Regions from separate parts of the Homo sapiens genome. Here region 1 is linked to region 2. Evidence: promoter capture Hi-C in human tissues and cell types (Jung and others, 2019). All regions are on one chromosome and are shown on one strand. Each heading gives the region's core, a stretch centred on a gene start or on the middle of the fragment in contact. The rest is flanking DNA. Distances are from core to core; before and after follow the strand shown.

The links. Contacts are between HindIII fragments. The study calls those that stand out against the background at their distance.
Region 1: a contact is called between a fragment that was not itself captured here and the fragment with the promoter of TNNT2 in region 2, in 1 of the 25 tissues and cell types used here (pancreas).

The regions. Positions count from the first base shown.
Region 1 is chr1:200,909,178-200,913,192 of GRCh38, reverse strand. It overlaps INAVA (innate immunity activator), which reads right to left. Exons shown (of 10, transcript NM_001142569.3): 8 at 3,796-3,969; 9 at 1,056-1,740. Among named protein-coding and RNA genes, the nearest start is that of INAVA, 16 kb to the right of the region's middle. The HindIII fragment of the contact is 7,621 bases long and covers 1-4,015 here.
Region 2 is chr1:201,376,345-201,380,338 of GRCh38, reverse strand. TNNT2 (troponin T2, cardiac type) reads left to right here and starts at 2,659. Exons shown (of 17, transcript NM_001276345.2): 1 at 2,659-2,716. RefSeq lists enhancers at 53-816, 2,153-2,690, 2,691-3,228, 3,633-3,994. The HindIII fragment of the contact is 17,386 bases long and covers 1-3,994 here.

The DNA of each region.
Region 1 (4,015 bases), core at 494-2,993, 470 kb after region 2:
AGCACGTCAGCTGGAGGGCGCGGCCTCGGACCGGGGCCAGGGTGCTGCCAGGCCCAGGATGCCAGCTGCAGTCCAAAGAACCGTGGGTGGGGGAGGGACACGCAGCTGGGTCTGCTGGGAATCTGGGGTCTCAAAGAAGCAGCTTGTTGGTAACTTCTGGAGCACATCACCTGCAGAGCCCTCCGTACCAGGGAGAAAGAATAAAGAAAGGATTCCTGTGTGTGGCTCCCCACTTCCAGAATGAAGAAATAGGGGCCAAGGAAACCAAGGCTGCCACCCTACCCAGTGTCAGGGTGCTCTATCCTATATACTACCCTCCAGCCTGCTCCCTGGCCTCTGTGGCCCCAGATGATAATAATATCACATATCTAGCGCTTACCATGCATTGCTCTAATCATTTCAGCCTCTTGGCAGCCCTATGAGATAGGTACTCTACTACTCTCATTTCACAGGGGAGGAAACACTAGGTCCAAAGGGGTTAAGTAACTTGCCCAATCATACAGCTCGTAAGTGGCAGAACTGGGATTTGAACCTGGTGGTCTAGCTTGAGGGTGGGTGCTCTTAACTCTGATGCCACCCTTCTTCTCGGCTTGGTGGTGAGGAGGGGTGTCAGGGAGGATGCTGATGCCCAGAAAATCACAGGTTCTGGCTTCTGCAACTCATTTCCTACTCTCCCTTTGTCCTAGACCTTCAAATGGAAATCTGAGGGGCTGATTTGGACTGGACTTTTGATTATGAAGAGGCTTATCTGCTTTGTGCATCATCATTTAGGGAGAGAAAAAGTCTCAGCTATCTTCGGGGATCATCTCCACCAGTGTATATGCTCTTGAGCTAGACATGGCAGGCAAAATTAGGAGGTGCCCCAGGGAAGCCAAGAGTGCCTTCCAAAGCCAAGAGGAAATGATTTTTTGGCCTGTTCTTCCTAGACGGGGATTACCCGGCCACTAGGTTGCTGCTTTGATGCCTCTGTACCCTTGGACATACTAGAATTGCAGCCCCTCCCCAACAAAACAGCCCTCCTGCCTGGCCCCGGGGTCCCTCCAGAGCAGCCGTACCTGTGCCCGGGGTCCCAGGGCTCGTCCGAAGCCCTCTCTCCCAAGGGGCAGGCTCCTGACCCGGAAAGCTCCTTGGCGGTCCAGTGAGTGGGGGCGGGTGCTCCGGAGGCGTGCACGCTCGTGCCACCACTTGAGCTCCTCGGACACGGCGGCCTTGCTGAGCCCCCGGCCTGCCGGGCTGTCCTTCAGGGAGGGCGTCCGCACGATGCGGCTGCGGGAGGGCACCAGACGCTGGTAGCGCAGGGGAGTGCCCTCCTCCTCGTAAGCAGGGCCCGGGGCTGCGCGGCGCAGCTCCCACTCGCCAGGCGGCAGGGGGCTCTCAGCCACCACCACGTACCGCCCCGCCGGGAAATAGCCAGGCGGCAGCAGTAGCTTGGGGTGGTGGGCGACCAGCTCTCTGCTGCCGGCTGGGACCCAGGCCCCGCGGTGACGATGGGTCTTGGGAGGGGAGAGAGGCTGCAGAAAGGAGATGTCGGGGCTGCTGCTGCCCGGCGAAGTGGGGTGGGAGATGCTGGAGACGTCAGAGCCACTGTCTTCTGAGCAGGAGTGGCAGGCGGCGTGGGGCAGCGGGGGCTTGGTCGCGGGAAAGCAGGAATCTGGCACTGTCACCGTGTAGTGAGTGGGGCGGCGGCGGGGAAAGGCGCTGCGACCTCGGCCCTCAGGACCCGCCCGGAAGGAATCCACCCTGAAGAGGGAAAGAGAGGCATTCTGAGTGTGGGGGGCAGAAACTCCACACTGGGGTTGGGGCGGGAGGTGGAGTTAAAACAGGTGAGTCCTGCTCTACCTCAAGGCCCAAGCATGGCCCTCGTGCAAGGGTCTTAGGTCAAGTCTCCCAAAGCAAACCAACAAACCCTCTGCCGGGCTGCGTGGGTGCCAACGCATTCCTTCCCTGTGTGCAAAAGTGTTCCTGCTGCATTCACAAGCTTGTGATTCGTGTAAAGTGTGCTACATCAAGTAGCACATTAAGTACTTTTTTTAAAGTACTACATTAAGTACTTTTTTTAAAGTACTACATTAAGTACTTTTTTAAAGTACTACATTAAGTACTTTTTTTAAAGTACTACATTAACTACTTTTTTTAAAGTACTACATTAACTACTTTTTTTAAAGTACTACATTAAGTACTTTCAGCTTAGGTACACCGTGTCCAGTGGCAGATCATCCACAGCATCTGTTCGGTAGGCACTGCCAGGTACCTTACTTGAACGTGTAAAAGCTGTCATGTGGTACCCAGAGCAGTTACCTGCAGCCCAAGACCGGCAGGGGCTGAAATCCAGCCTTCACTTCACTCTACTAATGCACCCAGGTATGGGGCTGTGTCTGCCTTTTCCTAATTTGCACAAAGGCATGGTTTGTAAAATGGCCCTCGTAGCATGTAAAATATAAAATCTATTGCTGTGTGGTGGCGGACGCCTGTAATCCTAGCTACTCAGGAGGCTGAGGCAGGAGAATCGCTTGAACCTGAGAGGCGGAGGTTGCAGTGAGCAAAGATTGCGCCACTATACTCTAGGCTGGATGACAGAGCAAGACTCTGCCTCAAAAAAAATTTAAAAATTAAACAAAATCCATTGCTTTACTTGAGAGCAGTTGTCCCAAGCTGCCCCCAGTTCAGTGCTGCCTGACCAGCCAATTTAAGCTGATGGAGAATTCAGCAGTGCTTTCATGGTGCCCCAGTCCCCATATGGTATGGCCAATACTGCCTGTCAACGCTTAGCCATTTAAACTATTACCAAGTAGCAGATGACTTAGAAAGTAACATACAGTCAATTCTCATTATTTGCAGATTCAGTATTTGTAATTTTCCTAGTTGCTAAACTTTATTTTTAATCCCCAAAGCAATATACACAGTGCTTTCATGGTCATTCTTGGACACTGCAGAAAAGTGACAAATTTGAGTCTCTTTAAGTTCTGAGGTTAAACGAGGCCATGTTCTGCCCTCATGTTTCAGTTCTCATGCTGTAAGTGCACAGTGTCCTTTTTGTGGCATATTTATGTACTGTGTGTGTTTTTGCTTTGATTAGTGATTCTGCTGTTTAAAATGCCCCCAAATACAGTGCCAAAGTGCTGTCTACTGTTCCTCCCTAAGGCATACTGGGAAAAGGCTGTGGTGTGCCTTGTGGAGAAAATATGTGTGCTAGGTAAGCTTCATCTGGGTATGAGTTACAGTGCTGTTGGCCATGAGTTAATGAATCAACAACCCATATTAAGTAAGGTGTCCTTAAGCAGAAACTCACATAACATAAGGTTATATATTAATCAGTTGATGCAAAATGTCGTGACCAAAGGCTCACGGGAACCTAACCCTATATTTCCCCAGGGGCAAGGGTTCAGTATTTGCTAATTCAGGATTTGCGTCAATTTTACTTTATAGAACATAACTACCACAGATAATGAGAATCAACTGTGCATCAATTGAAAAAGTGAGTTGCCTATTGTCAGTGACCAATAATAATCTACCAGCACAAGGAAACATGGCAAGGGTAGAAAATTTGAATCAAGTTATGCAAAAAGACAAAACTAGAGTCTTTGGAAGAAAACCACTTGCTTCATGGATGGCCTTTGGCTTAGTGGGGTGCAGTGCATTCTCTGTCAAGAGGCGCCCCAAGAAGAGATCCTAAGAGAAGTCAAGGCACTAGCCATGTGTCACCCAGGGTTGTCCCACCTGTGTCCTGGGAGCTCCCACCCTCCAACGATAAGCTCTAAGTGGGTCCCCCATCTCTCTGGGGAAGCTGTCTCTTACCTCAGAGACTGCGACTGGCCCCTCCTCCCCTGTATCTCAGGGGTGGCTGGGGCACTGGTGCGGCCCTGCCACTGGCCAGGAACACCACGGATGGGAACCACGTGGTAGGAGGCAGGCTCCAGAAGCCACAGGCTGGAGGCACTGGGCCCATCCTGTGGTGTGGTGGCTGGGCTGCTGCAAAAGGATTAGAGACAGGTCAGTGGCAGGAATGCCTCCATTC
Region 2 (3,994 bases), core at 1,410-3,909:
CTCTGCCCAGACCTCAGGTGTGACCCTGAGCCATTTTCCTTCTCTGAACTTCAAGCAGATGACCTCAGAGAACTTTCATATGTTCATGCCATGATAGGTGAACTTTTCCAGTAAACAAAACTGTCCCCACACAGAGGAGAGGCTCCTGGAGGCCTTCACCTGGCAGGGCCTGACCGTGGAGTAAGAGCCTAGGAAGACACTGAGGGGCCTGTTCCTGCAGCTGCAGCCTCAGCAGGGCCCTTCATGCCTGCACCCCCCTCCCCTGGGGTGCCCAGTGAGGGCTGACTGCTAGGGGAAATGTCGGGGTGCTACAGCACAGCCCCCTCCCCTGTGAATCCAGCACGTGAGGGCCCTGCCCTCGTTCCTACTGGGGACGCAGCCAGTAAACAAGGAGACCAGGGTGTGCCCAAGATGACCTCAGCTGGGGATAGATGAGTGGTAGCGACTGGGTGTCCAGGCGGGTGGGGAGGCCTCTGGATGGGTGACATTGGGCACCTTCTGGAGACAGAACAGGGCTCCCACACACCACTCCGGGCTGCACCCTCCTGCTGTCTTGCCACAGGGGCCCTGTGCCCCACAAGTGGCCCGTCCTATTGTGGATCCTCAAATTTACATGCACTGTTTCAGCATAAGCCTCCCATTCCACTCTGGCTTTGTTTTCTCTTTACATCCCTTTGAAAGGACAGGGATATAAAAAAAAAATGGGCTAAGAGTAACCCTACTATGCCCAGGAGTGGCTGCTGCATGGGGGCTGGATTTCCTTATCTGAGAGGCTGTCTCACAGCGCTCTGAACGAAGCTCCTGCCTTAGAACAATTCGAAGCCATACACGTGTGGCCTGTGACACCAAGGATCTACTGGGCTTTTCCCATGGGGCTCAGTAGTGACCTAGGTGCCCAGATCCCTCTTCTAGGCATCCATGCAAATAAACCGTGGTCTGTTTGAAAGGTTATTGGGCTTACAAGGAACAGTAACCCACCCTCAAGTTAAAAAAGGGTTTGGGAAAAGTAATTCCGAATTCTACGTTACTCCAGGCCAGGACCCAAGGCAAGGCTGGGCCCTGCTTCGTGGGCTAGAATGGGAGAGAGAGATGATGGGGCTCCCCCCACTTTCTTGACAGCCTGACTCCTTCCTCACTATCCCTCGGGAATCTGTCCCCTCCATCTGCCTGTCTCTCTACAAAGTGCCCCTGCTTCCCTGTGGTGGTCCTCAGTCCCACAATGCTGGCCAGCGGGCGGTTGGCTTCAGCTTGCCCTGCCACAGATGTGCTGGCAGTGTGGAGGCCCACGTGGCAGGGCAATCAAGGCCACTGGACTCAGAGGCCACAGGGAACTATGGAGGGGATGGAGTCAGCTGAGTGATGGGACAAGAGTCTGACAGCAGCATGGGTGTGGAGCAAATGGCAGTCCCCTGCGCAGAGGACCCTTTCAAGGACATTAGTGGTGGAGGCAGCATAGTAGCTCCCAAGGCAGAGGGATTGAGAGAAGAGTTTGAGGACTGGGAAGGCGGGACACATGATTGGGTGATGGGAGAAGGGGGCAGAGAATAGCGAGATTGCTTTCTTTGCCCACGGAGAAACAGAGGAGTGTGGATCATGAATGGGCAAGATCTTTAAGTGCCAGGGGGGGTCATGGAGGAGGGGAGGGCCTGCTCCAGAGGAGGACCATTCCTGCTTCAGAGCCAAGCAGGACCTAGGCTGTGAAGATTCGGAGAAAGAGATGGAGGGGAGAGTCAGCTCAGCTGCTTACTGGCTTGCTTTCCTCCTGTCTCTTTCATTTTCATAATCTACCAAACCCTGCAATGGGCCAGCCTTGAACATACAAGTGCATGTGCATGGTCAGACACAGGCAAGCAAGCAAGACCCCTAGGCCTGACCTATGCATCTGCAATCTAGTAGGTTTAGCAGATCATAGCCCCGCACTGCTTGATTTTAAAGCCGTTAGGGGATGACCTTTGACAGTCCGCATCACCCCTCTCACACAACGAGCGCCTGTTCAAGGTTCTTGACTGGAAGTTCTACCTTGTATCTGGCCTCCTGTAGCAGTTTCAGTCCATTCCCTGTGAGGAGGGTGTGCCACATGGCTTTGGGGGTCATGGAGAAGACCCACCTTGCAGATGTCCTCACTGGGGCTGGCAGAGCCGGCAACCTGCCTAAGGCTGCTCAGTCCATTAGGAGCCAGTAGCCTGGAAGATGTCTTTACCCCCAGCATCAGTTCAAGTGGAGCAGCACATAACTCTTGCCCTCTGCCTTCCAAGATTCTGGTGCTGAGACTTATGGAGTGTCTTGGAGGTTGCCTTCTGCCCCCCAACCCTGCTCCCAGCTGGCCCTCCCAGGCCTGGGTTGCTGGCCTCTGCTTTATCAGGATTCTCAAGAGGGACAGCTGGTTTATGTTGCATGACTGTTCCCTGCATATCTGCTCTGGTTTTAAATAGCTTATCTGAGCAGCTGGAGGACCACATGGGCTTATATGGCGTGGGGTACATGTTCCTGTAGCCTTGTCCCTGGCACCTGCCAAAATAGCAGCCAACACCCCCCACCCCCACCGCCATCCCCCTGCCCCACCCGTCCCCTGTCGCACATTCCTCCCTCCGCAGGGCTGGCTCACCAGGCCCCAGCCCACATGCCTGCTTAAAGCCCTCTCCATCCTCTGCCTCACCCAGTCCCCGCTGAGACTGAGCAGACGCCTCCAGGATCTGTCGGCAGCTGCTGTTCTGAGGTAAGGCTCGGGCAGGGCTCTGGGGAAGAGGAGAGCAGAGAATGGACGGGGAGATGTGAGGGTCTTGGGCCCTGGCATATTTACCCAGAGTCTGCCTGTGTCCGCAGAAGTCCATGGCCCCTCCTGGTGGAGGCCACACTTCAGAGGACAGGTTGCCAGGTCTGGGCTCCAAGATTGGTACAATAGAGCAGAGAGAAAGAGAGAATCCCATGGTAGCCATTGGAGACTAGGGTTGGAGTCCTGGACCTGCCACTAAAGATGTAGAGTTTAAACTCTTGGATGAGTCACTTTCCCTCCCCAGGCCTCAGTTTTCTCATCTGTAGAGTGGGCTAAATATTTGCTAGGCCTCTGCCTGCTCTAAATACAATGAGGCTCTAACCAACAGAGACTCCCCTAAATTGCTTGTTCCAGGCCGAGGGTCACCTATACCTTTCCAGTCAGGTCCTTCTTGAGTCCCAGGGAGCAGAGCGAGACTGCAGCCCTGTCAGTCAAGTGAGTCTCCTGGTCATATTCTCAAGGCTAGGAACTCAGAAACTGTCCTGGAAGTACTGAGAACGACCAGATGTGCAGGGTCCTCTGCAGCGCCTCTCCAGGCCAACGCGGGAATTCCATTTGATGCCGCTGACTCAGTGCCATTCCCTCCCAGAGCTGAGCTGAGCTCCCAGACCCTGAGCTGAGCTGCACTTGGGGGGCAGATGGGGAAAGGCCCCACTGGGAGAACCTGTCCTTGGGTGTGAGCCCAGCTGGTTGGCATTAAAGGGTTTAACCTGGGCCCCCGTAAGTGTAACCCTTGTCCCATCCCACCCCAACACCCCATCTTGGGACAAGCCTTGCTCTGTGCCCAGGAGTGGTAGAGAAAGATTCCCTTGGTTTCTAGTTTCTCCTGGGCAGGCTGAGGACTATTCAGGGAGGGGGTTGCCTGGTGTGTAAGGAATTTCAGAGCACATTCCTGGCCTGCTGTAGCCGGGAAGCTACCTGCCCTCCCAAATTCCTTTTCTGACCCATGTCTTAGAGGGCGAATCTTCCTTCTCTCTGCAAAAGTGGAATCTGAGAGGATCAGGTTGCTGGCTGCCTCCTATTTCTGACCCCCACTTCCACTCTTCCTGCCCTCTCCCCATCCCCTTACCCCCGCTCTCCTGGTGGGCTAACAGCTGTTGGCTTAGGAAAATCCCATTCGAGTGCTGGGGACAAGGACTGAGGGGTGGGGCCTGTGTTTCTCAGAAACTCGGAGACTGTTTCTACAGGGACAGAACTCAAGGCTCTCCTGCTTTGTAGTTG